Regions from separate parts of the Homo sapiens genome. Here regions 1 and 2 are each linked to region 3. Evidence: promoter capture Hi-C in human tissues and cell types (Jung and others, 2019). All regions are on one chromosome and are shown on one strand. Each heading gives the region's core, a stretch centred on a gene start or on the middle of the fragment in contact. The rest is flanking DNA. Distances are from core to core; before and after follow the strand shown.

Evidence for each region. Contacts are between HindIII fragments. The study calls those that stand out against the background at their distance.
Region 1: a contact is called between a fragment that was not itself captured here and the fragment with the promoter of LHPP in region 3, in 1 of the 25 tissues and cell types used here (IMR-90 fibroblasts).
Region 2: a fragment that was not itself captured here is called in contact with the fragment with the promoter of LHPP in region 3 in 1 of the 25 tissues and cell types used here (spleen).

Annotation. Positions count from the first base shown.
Region 1 is chr10:124,845,913-124,850,275 of GRCh38, forward strand. No RefSeq gene overlaps it. Among named protein-coding and RNA genes, the nearest start is that of ABRAXAS2, 46 kb to the left of the region's middle. The HindIII fragment of the contact is 5,094 bases long and covers 1-4,342 here.
Region 2 is chr10:124,777,315-124,782,221 of GRCh38, forward strand. All of the region lies in intron 3 of EEF1AKMT2 (EEF1A lysine methyltransferase 2), which reads right to left. Among named protein-coding and RNA genes, the nearest start is that of EEF1AKMT2, 12 kb to the right of the region's middle. The HindIII fragment of the contact is 3,768 bases long and covers 1,565-4,907 here.
Region 3 is chr10:124,459,326-124,463,724 of GRCh38, forward strand. LHPP (phospholysine phosphohistidine inorganic pyrophosphate phosphatase) reads left to right here and starts at 2,498. Exons shown (of 7, transcript NM_022126.4): 1 at 2,498-2,662. The coding sequence starts at 2,538. RefSeq lists a silencer at 2,378-2,837 and an enhancer at 4,354-4,399. The HindIII fragment of the contact is 8,477 bases long and covers 999-4,399 here.

The DNA of each region.
Region 1 (4,363 bases), core at 546-3,045, 390 kb after region 3:
TCATCCTCATTCTCCAGTTGACATTTCTAAAAATGACCTCCGGTGATGAAGTCCATGGGACCAGCAGCATTTTGAAAGTAAGGATGAGTTTCTTGGACAGTAGCCACTCGTGAGGGTGACCAACTGTCTTGGTTTGCCAGGATCCTCCTGGTTTTAGCATTGACATCTCCAGGTCCTGGAAACTCCTCTAGATGGTTGGTCACCTGACCTCTGTGTAAACTGAATCCAAGGATCCAAATCAAATGGTATTAAGGGAATGGTGGTTTTGTAGGACGCCGTCCACCCTGCTATAGTAGCTTGTTTTTCCCCCGGGAGACATTGGCAAAGCCTTGTAGCATCCTGGGCCATCCAGGCCAGTACAACTCTATGTTCAGTGTAATCACTTACAGGCTTTACAGACGAGAAGAACTGAACACTCCTGGATGAACAGCGACTGTGGCTTAAAGAAGAACCACAGGGGAGAAATCCACTGGGAGGGTGTGGCAGGAGGCGAGGAAACCAGAGCTGGCCTCCTCAAAATGCCTTAAGCCAGTGTGTCCTCCAAGTAATGGGGGCCATCCCTCCTGCCACGGGGTGTTCTGTAAGAGCAGACTTCCCATCCTCTTTCCTTTCAGAGCGGAGGGACTATCTCTGCTCCCCACCACTTCCCCAGGCCATCAGCTTTGGTCCAGCTGGAAGGATTGATTCCCTGTCCATTCAGCCCTGGCTTCTCTCCTGAGCCCCTTTTCCCCAAGCACACCTCTGTCCCGGGGAAACACCAAGATTCTCTGTACACACTCACTCGCTGTCCAGTGGTGATGGAGACCCGCATTCTGGTGTGGTGACCTCAGGAGATTCCTGGCCCTCCATCCCAGGTCTGGGAAGTAGCTTACAACAGTGGGCTTTGGAGTCAGACTCACCTGGGGCTTGAATTTCAGCCCTGCCATTTCCATAACTGTGTGCCCTGGGCAAGTTACTCAACCTTTCTGAGCCTCATCTATAGGTACAGTAAATATGGATGGATGGTAATACTTTTTTCGTAGGATATTGAAGGATTATGTGAGTTAGAGTGTAGAAGCCTTAAAACAAGCCTGGAAGACAATAAACTCTGATAAGTTGTGGCTACTGTTGTCTTGAACTAAGTCTTCTTCCAAGAGGCATTGTTTTATAGACCAGAGGTCAACTGGTGTTGTAAGCTTAGGACTGCTGTGCTCAGACCTTCTTTTCAGGTGGGGCCCCACGAAGGAGGCTGGGGATCATTGTGGGAAACACGGGGGGATCAGGCCACCTCTTCCTCATTTTATCTGTTGATTAGATTGGGCTTTGGGCAAACTTTGCTCAGAAAAATTTTATTTTATTTTTTTGCGACGGAGTTTCGCTCTTTCACCCAGGCTGGAGTGCAGTGGCGTGATCTCGGCTCACTGCAACCTCTGACTCCCGGGTTCAAGTGATTCTCCTGCCTCAGCCTCCCAAGTAGCTGGGACTACAGGCACCTGCCACCACACCCAGCTAATTTTTGTGTTTTTAGTAGAGACGGGGTTTCACCATGTTGGTCAGGATGGTCTTGAACACCTGACCTCGTGAACCACCCGCCTCGGCCTCCCAAAGTGCTAGGATTACAGGCGTGAGCCACCACGCCCAGCCCAGAAAAATTTTAAAAGGTCATATAACCACATGGCCGGGTGTGGTGGCTCATGCCTGTAATCCCAGCACTTTGGGAGGCCGAGGCGGGCAGAACACTTGTGGTCAGGAGTTTGAGACTAACCTGGCCAACATGGTGAAACCCCATCTCTACCAAAAATATAAAAAATTAGCTGGGCGTGGTGGCAAGTGCCTGTAATCCCACCTACTCAGGAGGCTGAGGCAGGAGAATCACTTGAATCTGGGAGGCGGAGGTTGCAGTAAGCAGAGATCACACCACAGCACTCCAGCCTGGGTGACAAAGGGAGATTCTGTCTCAAAAAAAAAAAAAAAAAAAAGGAACTGCACTATTTAGTACAGGAGCCAGCAGTCAGTCACACGTTGCTACTGAGCACTTGAAACGCAGCTAGCAAGGCGAAAGAATTGAGGTTTTTTTGAGGCAGCATCTTGCTGTCACTCAGGTTGGAGTATAGTAGTGCAATCATGGCTCCCTGCAGCCTCGACCTCGTGGGTTCAAATGATCCTCCTACCTTAGCCTCCTATGCAGCTGGAACTACAGACATGTGCCACCATGACTGGCTAATTTAAAAAAGAAAAATTTTGGCCGGGTGTGGTGGCTCACGCCTGTAATCCCAGCACTTTGGGAGGCCGAGGTGGGTGGATCACCTGAAGTCAGGAGTTCGAGACCAGCCTGGCCAACATGGTGAAACCTTGTCTCTACTAAAACTACAAAAGTTAGCCGGGCATGCTGGTGGGCACCTGTAATCCCAGCTACTCGGGAGGCTGAGTCAGGGAGAGTTGCTTGAACCCAGGAGGTGGAGGTTGCAGTGAGCTGAGATGGTGCCACTGCACTTCAGCCTGGGGGAGAGACCCTGTTTTGTAAAAACGGGGGTCTTGGGGCCAGGCGCAGTGGCTCACGCCTGTTATCCCAGCACTTTGGGAGGCCGAGGCGGGCGGATCACGAGATCAGGAGTTCGAGACCAGCCTGACCAACATGGTGAAACCCCGTCTCTACTAAAAATAGAAAAATTAGCAGGGTGTGGTGGCGTGCGCCTGCAATCCCAACTACTCGGGAGGAGGATGGCTTGAACCTGGGAGGCAGAGGTTGTGGTGAGCCGAGATCGAGCCATTGCACTCCAACCTGGGTGACAGAGCAAGACTCCGTCTCGAAAACAAACAAACAAACAAAGAAAAAAACGAGGTCTCAATTTGTTGCCCAGGTTGCCCTTGAACTCCTGGCCTCAAGCGATCCACCCCCCCTTCCGATCCACCGCCACCTCTCAAAGTTCTGGCATTACAGGTGTGAGTCACTGCACCTGGCCCAAGTTTTAAATTTCATTCAATTTTAATTCATTTAAATCTAGATTTAAGAAGCTGCATGCCATATGGCTAATGGTTACCAAATTGGATGACATAGGATGCTGACCCCTCATTTCACAAAGAGGGAACAACCGAGGCAAGAGTAGCATGATGATGGGCCCAAGGTCACAAAGCCACTGAAAGACCCAGAGCCCAGGCCTCCTGCCTCCTCTTACAGCTGTGTCTGCTCCAGACCATGACGGGCTTGGAGAATGTCAGCACAGGAAAGGATAGTAGAGATCCTCTCCGGCAACATTTGTCCCAGATTGAAATAAACAAAGGACAGGCTGGAGCATTTGCTCTGGGCCCCACGGGGCTTGGCATCCTGCTCAGGAAGCGTGGCTGTCCTCAGCCCAGCCTGGGACGCTCTTCACAGTGTCCTGGCACCTTGGATGCAGACAGGCCAGAGCGGGAAGCATAAGGGGAGCTCGCCTGGGGCAGCTGCAATCTCGGTGACCCTTGTCCTGACAAGCACACTCCTCCCCCTGCTCAGGACGTGACAGGGAAGGCTGCATCAAGCAGAAGCCAACCTCATTTCTGCAGCTCATCCACACCTTCCACTTGCTCAGTCCTCGGCCTGCCTGCTCAGAGGTACCCAGGTGGAGGATCAAATTAATCCCCTTCTTCATCCGGAGGCTGGCATTCAAATCTCCACCCACCCAGGGAGAGTGGGCACAGAGTTATGGGCGAGGCTGAGTGACATCCAAGCCCTCAGGAGAAAGAGGATGGCGAGAGAGAGCCCTGGCACCTTGCTCTAGCCATCTGCTGCCGACCCGGCCTGAGTGCACTGTGCCTGAGCAGACGCTGGGAGAGGGTGCTCCAGGCACCTGGAGAGCAGGTGGGACTCATGTGCAGCCCCGTTTTGTTAGCATCTTCTCTCCCTCCTTCACTCTTTCTCTCTGTTCTCCAACCCTCCCTCTCTCCCCACCCCTTCACTCCCCTTCTCTTTTGTTCGAGTAAATTTTTATCAAGGTGTAACATATATACAAAAAAGGACACAAATCATAAATGTATAGCTTGTCAGATTTTCACAAAGTGAACATACCTATGTGACTGGCACGAACATTAAGAAACAAAACATTGGCCGGGCTTGGTGGCTCATTCCTGTAGGCCCAACACTTTGGGAGGCTGAGGCAGGTGGATCACCTGAGGTCAGGAGTTGGAGACCAGCCTGACCAACATGGCGAAACCCCGTCTCTACTAAAAATACAAAAATTAGTATTTTTGTATTTGGGTGTGGTGGTGCGTGCCTGTAATCCCAGCTGCTTGGGAGGCTGAGGCATGAGAATTGCTGGAACCCGGAGATGGAGGTTGCAGTGAGTCGAGATCACAGCACTTTGGGAGGCTGAGGCAGGCAGATCACCTGAGGTCAGGAGATCAAGAC
Region 2 (4,907 bases), core at 2,199-4,698, 320 kb after region 3:
AGCACAGAATATAAGATGTAACACATACACACACACAGTCATGTGTCACCATGGAGTGTACTTACAAAAACCTAAATGGTAGAGCCCACTGCACACTTAGGCTACATGGTATGGCTTATTACTCCTAGGCTACACACCTGTACAGCATTTTACTGTACCGAATACTGGAGGCAACTGTAGCACGATGGTATCTGTGTACCTAAAGATTTTTTTTTTTTTTTTGAGACAGGGTCTCACTCTTGTAAGTCAGGCTGGAGTGCAGTAGCACAATCATGGCTTACTGCAGCCTTGCCTCCTGGCTCAATCAATCCTCCCACCCCAGCCTCTCAAGTAGCTGGATAGGCTCATGCCACCACCATGCCTGGTTAATTTTTGTTTTTTTGTTTTTTGTTTTTTTTTGTAGAGACAGGGTTTCGCCAGGCTGCCCAAGCTGGTCTTGAACTCCTGAGCTCAAGTTATCCACCTGCCTTGGCCTCCCAAAGTGCTGGGATTACAGGCATGAGCCACTGTGCCCAGCCCTAAAGATATCTGTACATAGAAAGGGTAAAAATACAGTATTATAATCTTATAGGACCACCATTGTATATGTGGTACATTTCAACTGAAACATTGTTATGTAGTGTATGACTATATATACATACACACACACACAACCCTCTATATCCACAGGGGTTCGAGACCAGCGTGGCCAACATGGTGAAACCCCATCTCTACTAAACACACAAAATTAGCCAGGCGTGGTGGCGGGTGCCTGTAATCCCAGCTACTTGGGAGGCTGAGGCAGGAGAATCGCTTGAACCCAGGAGTTGGAGGTTATAGTGAGCTCCGGAGTTGGAGGTTATAGTGTGTATGTATAGACAATTTTAACACACAGTCTATACATACACACACACACACACATACATACACACAAACATATATGTATACCCAATCCATATGTGGAATCTGAGAGGAAAGGAAATGAGAATAGGGCAGAAGAAAAAATGGCATATGGCTAAGAATACTCCAATAGTGACAAAGGACCCAAGCCTCAGATTCAAGAAACAGTATAAATTCAAGGCAGATGAAAGCAAACTCCACCTAGACACATCATAGTGTATCTGATGAAAAACAAAAACAGAAAAATCAGCTCAGCATGGTGGCTTATGCCTGTAATACCAGCACTTTGGGAGGCCAAGGCAGGCGGATCACCTAAGGTCAGGAGTTCGAGACCAGCCTGGCCAATATGGTGAAACCCCGTCTCTACTAAAAATACAAAAATTAGCCAGGTGTGGTGGCACATGCCTGTAATCCCAGCTACTCGGGAGACTGAGGCAAGAGAATCACTTGAACCCCGGAAGCAGAGGTTGCAGTGAGCAGAGATGGCACATGGCACTCCAGCCTGGGTGACGGCGTGAGACTCCGTACCAAAAAAAAAAAAAAAGAAAAACAGAAAAATCTCAAAAACATCCAGGGAGTAGGGATGTGGGATACAAGGCGACAGATTACCTTTAAAAGGATGATGATAAGGCTTATAGCTAACAATAAGTGATAAAGAATGGAAGCCAGAAGATAGTAAAAGAAAAATAGTAACCTAAAATGATATAGCAAAAACATCCATCAAAAATGTAGGAAAAGTAACCATCAAAAATGTAGCTGATCAATGAAAAAGTAGTACGTATAAGAAATGGTCTTCAATGGCTGTTAATATAACAAAAAGATGAATGTTCTACACCAAATATTCTACGCCACATATGCAAATATACACCAACACCTAATAAGTTTACTTGCCAAAAAAAAAAATCTAATAAAAATCTCTCAATCCAGGGTCAGCAATCTTTTTCTTTTTTTTATGGAAACAGGGTTTCCTTCTGTCACCCAGACTGGAATGCAACAGCGTGATCACAGCTCACTGCAGCCTCAACCTCCCCAGGCTCAAGCGATTCTCCCACCTCAGCCTCCTGAGTAACTGGAATTACAAGGACACACCACGACACCTGGCTATTTTTCTGTGTCTTTAGTAGACACGGGGTTTCACCATGTTGCCCAGGCTGGTCTCAAACTCTTGAGCTCAAACAAACCTTCCACCTTGGCCTCCCAAAGTGCTGGGATTATAGGTGTGAGCCACCATGCCCAGCCAGCAACCATTTTCTATAAAGAAACAGAATAGTGGCTGGGCGCAGTGGCTCACGCCTGTAATCCCAGCACTTTGGGAGGCCGAGGCGGGTGGATCACGAGGTCAGGAGATCGAGACCATCCTGGCTAACACAGTGAAACCCCGTCTCTACTAAAAAAATACAAAAAATTAGCCGGACGTGGTGGCGGGTGCCAGTAGTCCCAGCTACTCAGGAGGCTGAGGCAGGAGAATGGTGTGAACCTGGGAGGTGGAGCTTGCAGTGAGCCAAGACTGCACCACTGCACTCCAGCCTGGGCGACAGAGCGAGACTCCATCTCAAAAAAAAAAAAAAAAAAAAAAAGAAACAGAATAGTCAGGCGTGGTGGCTCACGCCTGTAATCCCAGCACTCTTGGAGGCCAAGGTGGGTGGATCCTGAGGTCAGGAGATCGAGACCATCCTGGCTAACAGAGTGAAACCCCGTCTCTACTAAAAAATACAAAAAATTAGCCAGGCGTGGTGGCGGGCACATGTAGTCCCAGCTACTCGGGAGGCTGAGGCAAAAGAATGGTGTGAACCCAGGAGGCAGAGCTTACAGTGAGCCAAGATCACACGCCACTGCACTCCAGCACTCCAGCCTGGGCGACAGAGCAAGACTCTGTCTCAAAAAACAAAAAGAAACAGAATAAATATTTTAGGCTTTGCCAGCCATACAGTCTCTGTTACAACCAGTCAACTCTACCAATGCAACACTTAAGCTGCCATAGACAATATGCAAATGAATAAATGTGGCTGTATTCCAACAAATATTTATAAAAACAAAGGAGGTCCAGATTTGACCCGTAGACTGTGGTTTGCTGACCCTTAATTTAGGTCTAATTTCCAACGTACAGACAACACGAGGGACAGAAAACATGTTAAATACTATAGAGATGTAATTAGAAAATTCACATTGTGAAAAACCATTCAGACAAATGAACTACCTCCTACAAAAAATAAATCGTAATGGTAAATAAAGAAATCATGCAGTAAAAAATTAAGACATGTCAGCCAATTGCAATGTGTGGACTTAACAGCAAAATGAAGGTGACAGAGAAAAAGTCAGTGAATCTGAAGACAGATCAATTGAAATATAACATTTGGCCGACAAAGACAAAAATGACTTTTAAAAAATTGAACCTGTGGAGTTCACGGGGACCTGTGGAGCAACAGAAAAATTGACATTTCATGTGTATAGACTCCCAAAATGAAAGGAGAAAGACAGTAATACAGAAAAAAAAAATAGAAAAAACAAAAGCTAGAAATATCGCAAATCTGGCAAAAGACATAAGCTTACAGATGTAAAAAGTTCAGTGAACACCAAATAGGATAAGCCAAAGAAATCCAAGCCACAGCACACATCATAAGCAAACTGCAAAAAACAAAAGACAAAGAAAAAAAATCTTAAAAGCATCTAGAAAAATGATGCATTCATAGGAAAACAACAATTCAAATGACTGCAGATTCCTCATGAGAAAACATGGAAGTCAAAAACAAGTGACGTAACTTTTTTTTTTTGAGACGGAGTCTTGCTCTGCTGCCAAGCTGGAATGCAGTGGCGCGATCTTGGCTCACTGCAACCCCCGCCTCCCGGGTTCAAGCTATTCCCCTGCCTCAGTCTCCTGAGTAGCTGGGACTACAAGGGCATGCCACCACGCCCGGCTAATTTTTTGTATTTTAGTAGAGATGGGGGTCCACCATGTTGGCCAGGATGGTCTCGATCTCCCGACCTCGTGATCTGCCCGCCTCGGCCTCCCAAAATGCTGGGATTACAGGCGTGAGCCACCGTGCCCAGCCCATAACATTTTTAAAGTACTGAAAGAAACGGCTAGCTCAGAATTCTATATTCAGGCCGGCTGCGGTGGCTCACGCCTGTTATCCCAGCACTTTTGAAGGCTGAGGCAGGCAGATCATCCGAGGTCAGAAATTCGAGACCAGCCCGGCCAACATGGTGAAACCCCATCTCTACTAAAAACACAAAAAGTAGCCGGGTGTGGTGGTGGACACCTATAATCCCAGCTACTCGGGAGGCTGAGGCAGAAGAATCAATCGCTTGAACCCAGGAGGCGAAGGTTGCAGTGAGCCGAGATTGTGAGATTGTGCCACTGCACTCCAGCCTGGGTGACAGAGTGAGACTGTGTCTCAAAAAAAAAAAAGATTCTATATTCAGCCAAAAAAAAAAAAAAAACACTCCTTAGGAATGAAGGTGAAATAAAGCTATTCTCAGGTAAAGGAAAACAAAAAAAATTTGTTGCAAGAAAACCCTCTCTAAAATAATTTCCAAGAAGAATTTCTTAGACAGAAAGAAAAAAAAAAAGCTCAGGAGATCCAGAATACAAAGGTGAAATAAATATCTAGGTGAATATAATTAAATATTCTTCTCCTAGTGCATTCCTTAAAATGTTTGAAAAAAATCATAATATTATCTAATGGAATTTTCAACATAAAGGTAATAGTAAAGACAACTACAACATAAAGGTGAAAGATCAAGAACCCAACATGATAAGGTTTTCACATTCCACTTATAGTGGTAAAATACTGATTCCAAGGAGATTTTGACAACTATATATATTGTAATCTACACAGGAACCACTAGAAAAGCCACACCAAAAGACACAGTCAACTGCTTAAAGCAACCACTAAAACAGCCATACGCAAAGAGATATATTCAAGAAGATACACATAAATTAAAATGAAATACTAACAAATGTTCAAATAAACCAACACCAGCAGGAAAGGAAAAAGAGAAGAATAAAAAACAGAGGTAAGGCCAGG
Region 3 (4,399 bases), core at 1,248-3,747:
AAAAGCCTGGAATTTTCAGATCAAGTTTTAGCCTATCAGTGGCCCACACTTAGAGACTTGCCACATTTTTCAGGTGAGGGACCTGGATCCCTGTATTTGTTTCTTGTCACTACTGCAAGAAATTACCATATACTTAGTGGCTTAAAACAACAGATTTATTATTATAGTTCTGGAGGTAAGAAGTCCTAAACTTGAAGTACCAGCAGGGCTGCATTCCTTCTGGAGGCTCTAGGGGAGAATCCAATTCTTTGCCTTTTTTAGCTTCCAGAGGCCACCTGCATTTCTTGGCTCATGGCCCCTTTGTATTCAAGGCCAGTAGCACGGTATCTTCACACCTCTCTCTCTGACCTCTGCTTCTGCTGTCACACCTCCTTCTCTGACTCTGACTCTCTCCTGCTTCCCTCTTTCCCTTATGAGGACTCATGTCATTATACTGGGCCCACCTGGACCATCCAGGATAATCTCCCTACAGGAGCATAGGCTCTGCAAGATCTAAGTCCCTTTTGCCATGTCAGGTAATATATTTAGAGGTTGTGGGGATTGGGAGGTGGACATCTCAAGGGGGCACTATTCTGTCTACTGTAGTCGTAGAAATGAAAAGGGACTTGCCCAAGAGTACCCACAGAGCTGACTGAAAAGAAACAACTATGGGTAGGCTCACACCACTGGCAGAAGCACCCCTTTTCCTCCTCCTTGGCATGAAGCTAAAGCCCAGCCATTCTCCAAGGTCCATTTCAGGCTGCCCCTGCCCAGAAGCCACAGCTGCCCTCCTAGGCCTGCAGAGGTCATCCTCTTGACTGTGTCTGTGTCACTCATTGCCACTTGGCACACATTTGGTCAGCAGTCGTGAAGGTCTTCCATTGTTCTCTGCCCAGTCTTGATCCTGGAAGGCAAGGATCACACCCTAGAACTTTTTTGTGCCCACTGCACAGAGTAGGGTCTCAATACGTGTACGGTTCATGATGTTCCTAGCAGATTCTCCAAACTGACTCACTCAGCCCCTGGAACACTAAAAACTGCATTTCCCAGACTCCTTTGCAGCGTGGGCTAGGTTCCACCAAGCCAGACACAGTGAAAGTGAGTGGGTGGCCACAGGTGGAGGGCACAGTGGTGGATATGTTTTGTTCTTTTGGGGGCAGCTATGCTGGGGGCTGCACTAAGTGATGGGGCAGTGGTCCCAATGGAGTAGTAAAATTAAGTGTTTCTCGTGGCTGCATGGCTCCTGGCTGTGTAGGACTTAGACCCGTCATCTGTAAGCTCCTTCACCTCATGTAAACAAAACCCCTCTAGCTGGAGTGGTGTCTATTGTCTGCGACTAAGAACCCTTATATAAGGTATACTACTCCCCAACCCCATTAGTGGAAATCCCAAAGGGTAGGAACTGTATTTTATTTCACTTGTAAACAGCTCCCCTAGTAAGCATGTCAACAAAATATACACAATTCATTGAACCCCATAACATTTCAACGAATTCCTCATCCTTTCTGTGAATCAAGAGCCTGAAAAGAAATGGTGAAATAATATGATCCTCTCTTCTTTGAAAGCTCAAAGCTATGTTGGACCAGAAGTAAAGTGTTCTCGTTTCTATTTAATAACTTGAAAGGTTCCGAGGGGCCATTGAGGAAACTCCTCCCTTTTAATATCAATGTGTATTTATTGCAAAAATAATGTAGCATCGAGTGGTATTTTATAGCTTATCCAAAAACCTCCTGGGTTTAACGCATTGTGATAGTCCCGTTTTCTTCTCAGCCCAGGTCCTATGCATCCTCATCTATGCAGGGCTGTTATCTGCATATAATTTTTTTTTTTTTTAAGACAAAGTCTTGCTCTGTCGCCCCGGCTGGAGTGCAGTGGTGCAATCTCGGCTCACTGCAACCTCCGCCTCCCAGGTTCAAGCGGTTCTTCCGCCTCAGCCTACCGAGTAGCTGGGACTACAGGCATGCGCCACCACACCTAGGTGATTTTTGTATTTTTAGTAGAGACAGGGGTTTCACCATGTTGACCAGGCTGGTCTCGAACTCCTGATCTCAAGCGATCCACCCGCCTCAGCCTCCCAAAGTGCTGGGATTACAGGCATAAGCCACTACGCCCGGCCTCAATTTTGTATTGTACTTTTTCTTTCTTTCTTTAATAGAGACAGGGTCTCACTATGTTGACTAGGTTGGTCTAGAACTCCTGGGCACAAGCTGTCCGCCCGCTTCTGCCTCCCAAAGTGCTGGGATTGCAGGCGTGAACCACCGCCCCTGGCTACAGGTGCCTTCTTGTCTCAATTTGCCTTTGACCTTTCTTAGGGACTTGTTTTCTGCTTTTCCTGCTCTTTGTCCGCTGATCTCCTGGGAAGAAAGCTTCCGAAAAGGACACCGTTTCAGGGGCGAGTGACGCCGGGGTGCCCAGGCCGCGCCCCAGTTCCGGGTTTGCACCCGGTCTTCTTGCCCTGCCCCGCCCGCGGGACTACAGTTCCCAGGCGCCCCTGCGCGGCCGCGGCGCCGGCGCCGGCGTCGGTTGGGACGCGGAGCTGAGGAGCAGGGCCGGGCGCCATGGCACCGTGGGGCAAGCGGCTGGCTGGCGTGCGCGGGGTGCTGCTTGACATCTCGGGCGTGCTGTACGACAGCGGCGCGGGCGGCGGCACGGCCATCGCCGGCTCGGTGGAGGCGGTGGCCAGGTGAGTGGGCCCCGGGACGCCGCTGGGGCCGCCGAGCTCTAAGCTCAGCCCGCTCCCTGGCTGCCGGCAGGGGGCGGGGCGGCAGGGGGCGGGGCCGCGGCGCAGGCCCCGCCTCGGTCTCCCCCTTCCCACCCCGGTGCGCGCACAGTGCTGACCACGGACGACCCCACTGTTGCCCCCGGCGAGCACCAGGACTCTGCTGGTTAGGGCTGCGCGGTCAGACAGGGCGGCCACCTGGTACGTGCGCTGCTGAGCGCTTGACCTGCGGCCAGTCTGAATTGAGATGTGCTGTAAGCGTAAAATGCATACCGATTAACAAGACTTAGCCGGGCGCGGTGGCTCGCATCTGTGATTCTAGCACTTGCAGAGGCAGAGGAGGGAGGATCGCTTGAGGCTAGGGGGTTGGAGACCACCCTGGGCAACATAGGGAGACCCCGTCTCTGCCAAAAATTTAAAAATTAGCCGGGTGTGGTGGTGCACGCCTGTAGGCCCAGCCACTTGGGAGGCTGAGGCAGGAGGATCGCTTGAGCCCAGGAGGTCAAGGCTACAGTGAGCTGTGATCACCCCACTGTACTCTAGCCTGGACTGCAGAGCGAGACGGTCTCATAAACAAAACCCCCAAAAACACCAGACTTCGTGAGTAAAATGTAAAATAAAAACATGAAAATGGGTTATGTTGTTTGCCTGTTGAAATGATATACTTTTTGTTTGTTTTGTTTTGTTCTTTTCAGATGGAGTCTTGCTCTGTCGCCCAGGCTGGAGTGCAATGGCACGATCTCGGCTCACTGCAACCTCCGCCTCCCGGGTGCAAGTGATTCTCCCCCTTCAGGCTCCCGAGTAGCTGGGATTACAGGCACCCGCCATCATGCCCAGTTACTTTTTTTATTTGTTTTGTTTGAGACGGAGTTTTGCTCTTGTTGCCCAGGCTGGAATGCAGTGGTGCAATCTCTGCTGACTGCAACCGCCGCCTCCCAGGTTCAAGCGATTCTCCTGCCTCAGCCTCCTGAATAGCTGGAATTACAGGCATGTGCCACCACACCCGGCTAATTTTTTGTATTTTTAGTAGAGACGGGGTTTCACCATGTTGGGCAGGCTGGTCTCTAACTCCTGACCTCAGGTGATCCACCTGCCTCGGCCTCCCAAAGTGCTGGGATTATAGGCGTGAGCCACATGCCCAGTTGATAATATTTTTAATATACTGTTTTAGGTTAAAATATTTGAAATTAAGTATACCTTTTTTTTTTAACTTTTGTTAATGTGCTTATTAGAAAACTTTAAATTACCTTTGTGGCTCTCATTATAATTCTGTTGGACTGCATTGGTTTAGGTGAGAGGAGGAGGAAGAGAACATCGTGCCAGCCAAGACTTGACCATGAGGACACTTTTTTTTTTTTGAGACAGTTTTGCTCTTGTTGCCCAGGCCGGAGTGCAGTGGCGCCATCTGGGCTCACTGCAACCTCTGCCTCCCAGGTTCAAGTGATTCTCCTGCCTCAGCCTCCCAAGTATCTGGGATTACAGGCACCCGCCACCACGCCCAGCTAATTTTTGTATTTTTGGTAGACATGGGGTTTCACCATACTGGCTAGGCTGGTCTCGAACTCCTGACCTCAACTGATCCACCTGCCTGGGCCTTCTAAAGTGCTGGGATTACAGGCGTGAGCCACCGCACCTGGCTGACACTTTTCTTTGTATAATTTTTTTTTTTGAGACAAGGTCTCATTATGTTGCCAGGGTGGT